Linked DNA regions of Homo sapiens: all the other regions are linked to region 2. The links are contacts of gene promoters, found by promoter capture Hi-C in human tissues and cell types (Jung and others, 2019). All regions are on one chromosome and are shown on one strand. Each heading gives the region's core, a stretch centred on a gene start or on the middle of the fragment in contact. The rest is flanking DNA. Distances are from core to core; before and after follow the strand shown.

Evidence for each region. Contacts are between HindIII fragments. The study calls those that stand out against the background at their distance.
Region 1: a contact is called between the fragment with the promoter of GLI4 here and the fragment with the promoter of EEF1D in region 2, in 1 of the 25 tissues and cell types used here (H1 embryonic stem cells).
Region 3: a contact is called between a fragment that was not itself captured here and the fragment with the promoter of EEF1D in region 2, in 1 of the 25 tissues and cell types used here (dorsolateral prefrontal cortex).

The regions. Positions count from the first base shown.
Region 1 is chr8:143,266,187-143,268,886 of GRCh38, forward strand. GLI4 (GLI family zinc finger 4) reads left to right here and starts at 1,259. Exons shown (of 4, transcript NM_138465.4): 1 at 1,259-1,298. RefSeq lists silencers at 725-1,434, 1,595-1,714 and an enhancer at 2,275-2,700. The HindIII fragment of the contact is 9,983 bases long and covers 1-2,700 here.
Region 2 is chr8:143,596,094-143,598,793 of GRCh38, forward strand. It overlaps EEF1D (eukaryotic translation elongation factor 1 delta), which reads right to left and starts at 1,322. Exons shown (of 10, transcript NM_001130053.5): 1 at 1,255-1,322. TIGD5 (tigger transposable element derived 5) reads left to right here and starts at 1,738. Exons shown (of 1, transcript NM_032862.5): 1 at 1,738-2,700. The coding sequence starts at 1,811. RefSeq lists an enhancer at 1-569. The HindIII fragment of the contact is 45,525 bases long and covers 1-2,700 here.
Region 3 is chr8:143,909,165-143,911,864 of GRCh38, forward strand. No RefSeq gene overlaps it. Among named protein-coding and RNA genes, the nearest start is that of PLEC, 29 kb to the right of the region's middle. The HindIII fragment of the contact is 9,347 bases long and covers 1-2,700 here.

The DNA.
Region 1 (2,700 bases), core at 9-2,508, 330 kb before region 2:
CACCCACTTCAGTGTCCCAAAGTGCTGGGATTACAGGCGTGAGCCACTGCGCCCGGCGCTACTTATAACTTTTTAAGAAACTACCAAGCCAATTTCTAGAATGGCAGCACCACTTTGCCTTACCACTGGCGATGTCCCAAGCTGCTCCGCGACCTCAGTGATGCTTGGCACTTGTTAGCAGTTTTTACCTGAGCCACCTGGCAAGTGTGCAGTGGCACCCACCGCGATGCTGGCCGGCCCTTCCCTGACAGCCATCCCTTCCCGAGCCTATTGCCATCCCTGTGCCCTCTTCGGTCAAACGTCTGTTGCGGCTCTTGCCAATTTTCTAACTGGAATGTTTGTTTTCTTGCGGTAGAGTTTAGAGATTTTTACATATTATCAGCCTGGGGGCTCCTCCACCCACACAGCCCTGAGCGTCCACCCTGGCAGCTGTTGCCCGTCTGCAGGCCCCCCCGCCCTCTGCTCCGCGTGCCCCTCCAGCTCAGGGGTCCCCTCGCCTCGGCTCTCTGCACCCCTGCTCAAAACGGTCAAAGAACCCTCCCCGGCCGTTTATTTTTCCCAGAAAGTGACAATTTTCTCTTTTCAGGTCGTAAGCACAGAACTGAGGGAGAAACTGTGGCTGAACAAGAGGAAAATGAGGAAGGAGTCCATGAAGGGGCTTTGGGGAACCTGTAACATCCTCCTCAGGCTCCCGGGGACGCCCCTGGAAAGCAGGCAGAATCGAGGGCGCTGGGGCCCCCGCGAGGGGAGCGGGAGGTCGCGCGTCTCGCAGCGGTTCCCGGCCGCCGGTGACCATCGCTGCGGACACATCCCGAGGAGGGAACCCAAGAGGGCGGCGGGGGGGACTCGCGAGCTGAACGTGGAAGCAACTCCAGCCGAGGACCCCCGGAGGCCTGGAGTGCACGGAGGGGCCGCGGGCAGCGTGGGGACGGCGCCGTCATCTCCCGAAGCCCGGCCCCGCGCTGGCTCCCCGGGCGGTGCAGGGCCGGCGTCGGGAAGGAGGCTCCGAGGCGCCGGCTTCTGCGCCCCACGCAGCGCCGCTCCCCGCGCCCGGGCGCTTTGCAGGCGCGGGCGGGATCCGGGCCAGCGTGTACGCGAAAGCCACGCGCGGGCGCAGCCCACGAGGGGAGGGGCGGGGAAAGGCCTCCTCTTCGCTCCCGGCCCCGCCCCCACACGGCCACCGAGGCGTGCGGTCCTCCCGGGGCCCAGAGCGTCCCGGAAGTGCGCGCCGGCCGGGCGGAGTGGGGCGGGGCCGGACACTTCCGTCCGGCGCGCGGCGTCCTCCTCCCGCTCGGAAGGTGAGTGGGCGCGGGCGGCGGCGGCGGCTCCGGGTGCCTGGGACCAGCCCAGTCCGAGCTCGTGCGCCGTACTCCGCGGTGCAGCCCTGCCCAGCCGGGCCGTGCGGCCCTTGCAGCCGCCGCTCGCCGTGACCTTGGCCTTGGGCCAAGCCCGGGGAGCGGGGTGGGCTCCTGGGGGTCGCGGAGCAGCAGCGGACCGCCCCGCCCAGCGGCCCTGGCGATAGCGGGTGTCCGTTCGCAGGGCGCCTTTCCCAGGCACCCAGTGACGGCAGCTGTCGTCATCGCCACTCTGCAGATGGGAAACTGAGGCCCGGAGGTCCCGCCGCTCCGGAGCGAGGAGCCGCCGGACCCCAGCGCCGCACCGCCGGGCGGACGCGCTCTGTGCCGAGCTCCCGGCGATTGGGTCCGCTCCCACGGGGCTGGGAACAGAGGGGCAGAGGATGCTTCCCCCGAGCCGCTGGCAGGAGTGCCCTTCCCCCTTCAGTCTGGAGCTCAGAGTTTGTGCGTCCCTGGGGGTGAAGGGGCGTCCACGCTGTGATGGTCGCCTCTGCTCAGTCCTGGGGGCCAAGCCAGGGTCGGGGTGATCGAGCAGGCCCTTTTACCAGGTGTCCCCAGTAAGTTAACTAAGTAACTTGAGATGTGACTTCAGGGTGGAGGACCTGCACCCAGTGGCCACCTACCTGGTGACCTGACCCTTCCCATCATTAGGGGATGGAGGCTGGCCCAGAAGCCGGGCACTGGGGTGGCGGCCGTGTGGGAGCTGCCTCTCCCACTTCCTCGAAGCAGGCACTGTCTGCTGTTCTTAGATCTGAGTATCCGTTAACTTTTGTCCTCTTTTCCCGTTCCTTTCTTCACTCCCTGCCCCAGATTAGGAGTTCCTACTCTATCACAGTATGAAAGAAAAGTCACTTTTCACATTGGACTCAAGCCGTTTTTGCAAAGTAAACTAAGAAGTGTCTTGGAGCCCTGAGTGAGTCTCCCAGTGCTGCTGCAGGGCTGGACTAGGGGATTCCAGCCTGCAGTCTCTGAGGGCTCTGTAGGGTCTGAGGAAGAGAGTTGCCCTCTGGAAACGTCTCTTCTCTGCTGTTCGGGAAAAACCTTATTAAGATTTCCTCCAAAACACTCATGCGCAGCAGGCATGGTTCGGTTTTCAGCCCTCCCACAGGGCCAGCAGCTGAGGTTTTTCTGGAAGACTCCCTATGCCTTTCTCTGGGGGAGGGGTGATGCCACGGGCTGGAAGGAGATGCCAGAGCCTCTGCTGGGACAGGAGCTTCGCTTCAGCCCCCACAGGCGTCTGCTGTGCCGCCCAGGCGGTGGCTGCTTCCTAAGCGCGCCTTCCAAGGCGTTACTCCTTTGCTGCTGCTGCTGCTGCTGCTGTTGTTTGAGTCTTGCTGTGTCTCCC
Region 2 (2,700 bases), core at 72-2,571:
TAAACCTTGCAGCCTCACCCAGCAACCCGGGAGCAAAGCCCAGAGGGCCTAGTCCTCCAGAGGAGGCGGGAGGCAGCGGGGGCTCTGTCGGCTGGGCGCTCACTCTGCCAGCACTGACTGCGTGTGAACCCTGCAGCAGCCCAGGGGAGATGCTGCTGTCTCACAGGATTGGCACTGCGCCCAGAAAGCCTCTACAGAGGCAGGTCTAGGAGCCTGGCTGGGCCTGAGGCATGTGGTGAGAAGGCGAAGGTGAGCGTCTACTTCCTCAGAGGACGCTCGGGGGCTCCTTCCACACCTGCCCAGCCCCTCAGCTGCATCCCCCACCCCCAGAACGGGGCTGGGCACACACGGGCTCCGGAAGTAACCAACTGCCTGCGAGCCAGCTGCTTAAGGCTCATGGGGTCCAGATGACGGGGTGGGCGGAGCTGTAGAAGGAGGCTGCTCAGGTGAGATGGCCTGGCCTGCCTCCCTGGGAGGTGAGCCGCAGGCAGTGTCAACTTAAGAAGCACCCCGCCCTGTCGGGCAGGGACAACCCCAAGTTTAGCTACACAGTTCTTCTGCTGCCAGGCGGTCCTTCATTCTGGAAACCAATCCTGACGTCTCATCAGGTCCCCAACCCACTCCGCCCCCTTTGCCTTCTTCCTTCCACTTAAAGCCTCTGAAAGTACTACTTCTTAGCAACAGCATCCCCGCCCCCTTCAGAGACTGCCCGACCACCCTATCCAAATCAAGAGACAGAAATTTTGACCCAGTCACAGTACAGGCTTATTCCTTTCCGTGCTCACTAGCGTCTAAGTTCCAAAAGTGTTGCGTCCGTGCCTATCCCCTCCGTGCTCAGCTGATGCGTGCAGTAACTGGTGCTTGACAAAGACGTGGTGTACGAAGGTCTGCAGGCCAGAGAAACAGCTGGGGCAGATGTCTGGTCTCCCACGGAGACGGCAGCAAACACAGGCCTTAGGCCCCAGCAGCCTGGCCGAGGGGCTTCCACGACCGGGATGCGCCGTGAGACAGTGCTCCCGGCGCCCCCGTCCCGCGGACGCCCTCCAAGCCGGCCACGTGGCCTCCGTCGCCCCGCCTCTCTGCGCTCGCCCCAAGTGCCGCACTTGGCCCACGGCCCCTAAGCCCGCGCTGGCGCACTTGTGCCTCAGTCCCTAACGGCGCGAGCTTCTGGCGCAGCCCGGGCCGCCCGCCCTCCCGGCCCCTCGGGCGTCTCTGTCGCGCCCGACTCCTTCCGGCGGGGGCCGCGGTACTCACACGCCAGCCAAGGACGCGGCGACCAAGGAGGAGGAATCGGCGGACGCGGGAAGACTGATGAAAGGGAGGGCCGCCCGGGCCGCGCACGGGAAATGAAGCACTGGGCTCTACCAAGAGCCACGGGCCGGGGGCCCGGGGGGGGGACGCGACCCTTGCACACGCCCCGCCTGGCCGCCAGGACCCTCGACGCGCCGTGCCCCGACACTTCAAAGGCAGAATTCCGTTGGAGATGACCGCGGAGGCCGCTCTTCCCCGGAGGAGTCTGCACAAGTGCTGGGAACGGGCGGCAGCGCGCGCGCCCCCCCTGCGCTTCGCGGCCAGTGGTGTCGCCGGTGGGGGCGGGTCCGGCAGCCGGCAAGCGCCGAGTGACGCACGAGGCGGCCAGCGCGCAGGCGCGGGGCGGGGCCGGGCCGGGCTAGGTCAGCGCGCGTGCGCCCGCCAAGCTGCGGGACAAAGGGGAGGGACCCGTGCGGCCCCGCCCCCGAGTGCCCCGCCCCGAGCGGCTGGGCGTGTGGCTCCCGCGACCCGCGCGGCCCGGGTCCCCCCCGCCGCAGCCATGTACCCCGCGGGCCCCCCGGCCGGCCCGGTACCGCGCCGCGGCCGCCGTCCCCTGCCCGGGCCCCCCGCGCCCGCCCCAGCCCCCGTCCCCGCTGCACGGCCGCCGCCCCCCGCGCCCGGGCCGCGGCCCCGCGTGGCCGTGAAGATGGCCTTCCGCAAGGCCTACTCCATCAAGGACAAGCTGCAGGCCATCGAGCGCGTCAAGGGCGGCGAGCGGCAGGCCAGTGTGTGCCGCGACTTCGGCGTGCCGGGCGGGACGCTGCGCGGCTGGCTCAAGGACGAGCCCAAGCTGCGCTGGTTCCTGGAGCAGCTGGGCGGTGAGGTGGGCACTCAGCGCAAGAAGATGCGGCTGGCCAACGAGGAGGAGATCGACCGCGCCGTGTACGCCTGGTTCCTGGCGCTGCGCCAGCACGGGGTGCCGCTGTCTGGCCCGCTCATCCAGGCGCAGGCCGAGGCCTTCGCGCGCCAGATCTACGGGCCCGAGTGCACCTTCAAGGCCAGCCACGGCTGGTTCTGGCGCTGGCAGAAGCGCCACGGCATCTCCAGCCAGCGCTTCTACGGCGAGGCCGGGCCCCCAGCCCCGAGCCCCGCGCCCGGCCCGCCCGTCAAGGAGGAGCCCGCGCTGCCCTCCGGCGCCGGCCCCCTGCCCGACCGCGCCCCGGCCCCGCCGCCCCCGGCCGAGGGCGGCTACGGGGACGAGCAGATTTACAGCGCCAGCGTCACCGGCCTCTACTGGAAGCTGCTTCCGGAGCAGGCTGCGCCCCCGGGCGCAGGGGACCCCGGGGCGGGGGGCTGTGGCCGGCGCTGGCGGGGCGACCGCGTAACGGTGCTGCTGGCCGCAAACCTGACCGGCAGCCACAAGCTGAAGCCGCTGGTCATCGGGCGGCT
Region 3 (2,700 bases), core at 135-2,634, 310 kb after region 2:
GAAGCGCTCGCTCCTAGTTCACGGAACACACATTAAGAGGCTTCCGCTTTTGCTAATGGGTTGTGTCCATTATCCTTTCGTAGGGAATCTGTCTTTTCTCTCTAGCTGCTTTAATTTTTTTTTCTTTTTTGGTTTTCGGTTTTCCGCAATTTTACTACAATGTGTTTTGATGTAGATGTTTTATTTGCCATACCTGGGTTTTACTGTGCCTGTTGGATAAATGGTTCATGTTTTTCATCTATTTGGAAAACAATTATCAGCCACTATTTCTTCAAAACGTCCTCACCTTATTCCAGGATCTTCTTATAGAACCCCAGCTGGACTGATGCTAGATGTCTTCTGTTCTGCCTCCTAACCTCTCTTTCCTGTTTCCCATCTCTGGGATAAATTCTGAGTAATTTCTTTAGATCTATCCTTTAATTCACCAATTCTTCAACTATGATTCGTCTGCTGTTTAGTCCATTGAGCTTTAAATATTATTAGTATATGTTTCATTTCTAGAAATTCTATCAAATTTCTTTAAAATCTTCTTGCTCTTTTTAGCTAGAATTTTACTTCTCACATTATGGATTTGTTGTGTTATAAACATTTCAAACATACTCACTGTGTATTCTTTATTGAATAATTCCAGTATCCTGCGTCCCTCAGCTTCCAGTTCTGCCCTTGTTCATGATGCTCGTTTCCATGCGTCTTGTAACTTTTGACTGCGTCATGTTGGAAAGCCCGAGGTCTTTTATCTGAAGCCTGGGAAGCCTTGGTTGGGGGCAAGACCTCCAGATAAGATTATATTGGCTCATACCAGGTACCAGGCAACAACCAACCTGGGGCCATGGTGATGTAATTCCTCCACATGGGGTTCTCCAGACCCTACAGGGGGATGGCCTGAAATTGTAAAGCTCAGTGGAAACGCTTTCCTGTCAGAGCCCAGGCAGGATCCAGTGTTTCCCTTCTGTGGCTGGATCGTCGGAGAACCCGCTTTCTCGCTGGGTGCAGCCCTTTGAGGATCCGGATGCCACAGAGGCCTCTGGCTGTACGGCCCGCATCCCGGCCTCCTGTTCCTGAGGACCTTTAAAACCCGAGGCTTCAGCCTTCCAGGATCAGCAAATTCCTCGGGAAGCGTCAGCTCAGCCGCTGCACTGAGGACCCTCCTTTCTCTTTCACCCCTGGTGGTTTCCTTGTCTTTTTGGTAACGTCAGAATGCACCCGAGAAGCTATTTAAGTTTTACCCGGATTTACGTGGGAGGAGTTTTCAAGGGTCTCTCGGTCCGTCTGCGCTGCTACTGAGGAGCTGCCACCGTGAAGGCAGCTGCCGTGGCCGATCCTCCAAGATCCCCTTGGGTGTCCTTGTTCCCCTCCCCAGCTGCTGCAGACGCTCACCTGTGTCCTCCTCCAGAACACTGCCCTTGGCTGACAAGAGCTGCTCATTCAGAGATGCCTGAGGACCACGTGCCACCCCACAGGCAGCTCAGACCCACGTGTGGGCAGGAGTCAGAGCCTCTGAGCTGTGCCCTTGCCTCTCAGATGTCCGTGGGGCAGGGCTACGGCTCCAGCCCCCTTTGCCAGCTCCTTGCCCTCCCCACTTGTTGCACCCCTTTTCTGAGAATTCTCCAGAAACCATGTGTAACTGAGGCACCGCCCTGGGGAGCCTGCCTGGGATGGGGGGGCGCAGACGTGGTCCTGGCGCACAGATGCCACAGTTGGTCAGAACACCACCGACTGCCTGGCGATGCTGTCAGCCTGGCACCAATGGCAGTGCAGCCGCTGGAGCTCCCACCTGTTGAGACGTGCTGGCAGCGGGAGGGAAGGTGGGGGCAGCGGCCAGAAGACCCTGACCATGGGGGCCCATGAAGCTGGCTCATGGAGCGCCACAGTCTGACAGGAGACGCAGATGGGCAGCCTGCAAGGAGCTGCTCACTACACTGGTTCTCACACTCAGGCACATGGCAGCCCCTGGAGGGCTCCTTAAAGCACAGCTGGCTGAGCCCCAGGCCCAGGATTTCTGACTCAGTTGGTCTGTGCCGCGGCCAAGGCTCTGCCCCTTCCAAGCTCCCAGGTGGTCCCGGGGCACACTCGGAGGACACTGGCTCAGCACGCGGCACCCACAAATTTTAAAACGAGTGAGTGAGTCCAGGCCCACTGCTCTGATGGAAAACACAACCACTTGCTTTGTTTCCTTATGTCAGCCAGTTCTCAGAGCCAGAGCCCACAAATGGAAAGAGCGGCCAGGTCCCCTTGTGAAAGGCCTCACGCCTCCAAGTGTGGACAGCAGTGACCCCCCAGTCCCTCCAGGGACCCAAAGATGCTTATCTGGACAACTGTGCCCTGGGGAGAGGAAGACGCCCAGATCAGGGTCTGAGTGGACGCTGACACCTGGGGCGCAAAGCACCCTCAGAGGCTCCCATCTGGGTAGGGAATATGGGGTCAGGAAGGACCTGGAGTCCTGGCCCAGGCCTCAGCCCATCATTTCCCAGCCCAGGAACGTGCAATTGGAACTGGCATGCTCAACAGCAAATCCTCACATGGGCTTTTTGGCCCATGGAGTAAAAATCACTGTAGTAGGAAAGACCAAATGGAAACCTTAGAAACTACCCCCAGCTCCAGCCAAGGAAATAAAACAATACAACCTCCTGGTCAAAACGGCGGCGTCAGCAACACCGCAGATGCCTAAAGGGTGCATGGGTGATGGCCACCATCTTCCCA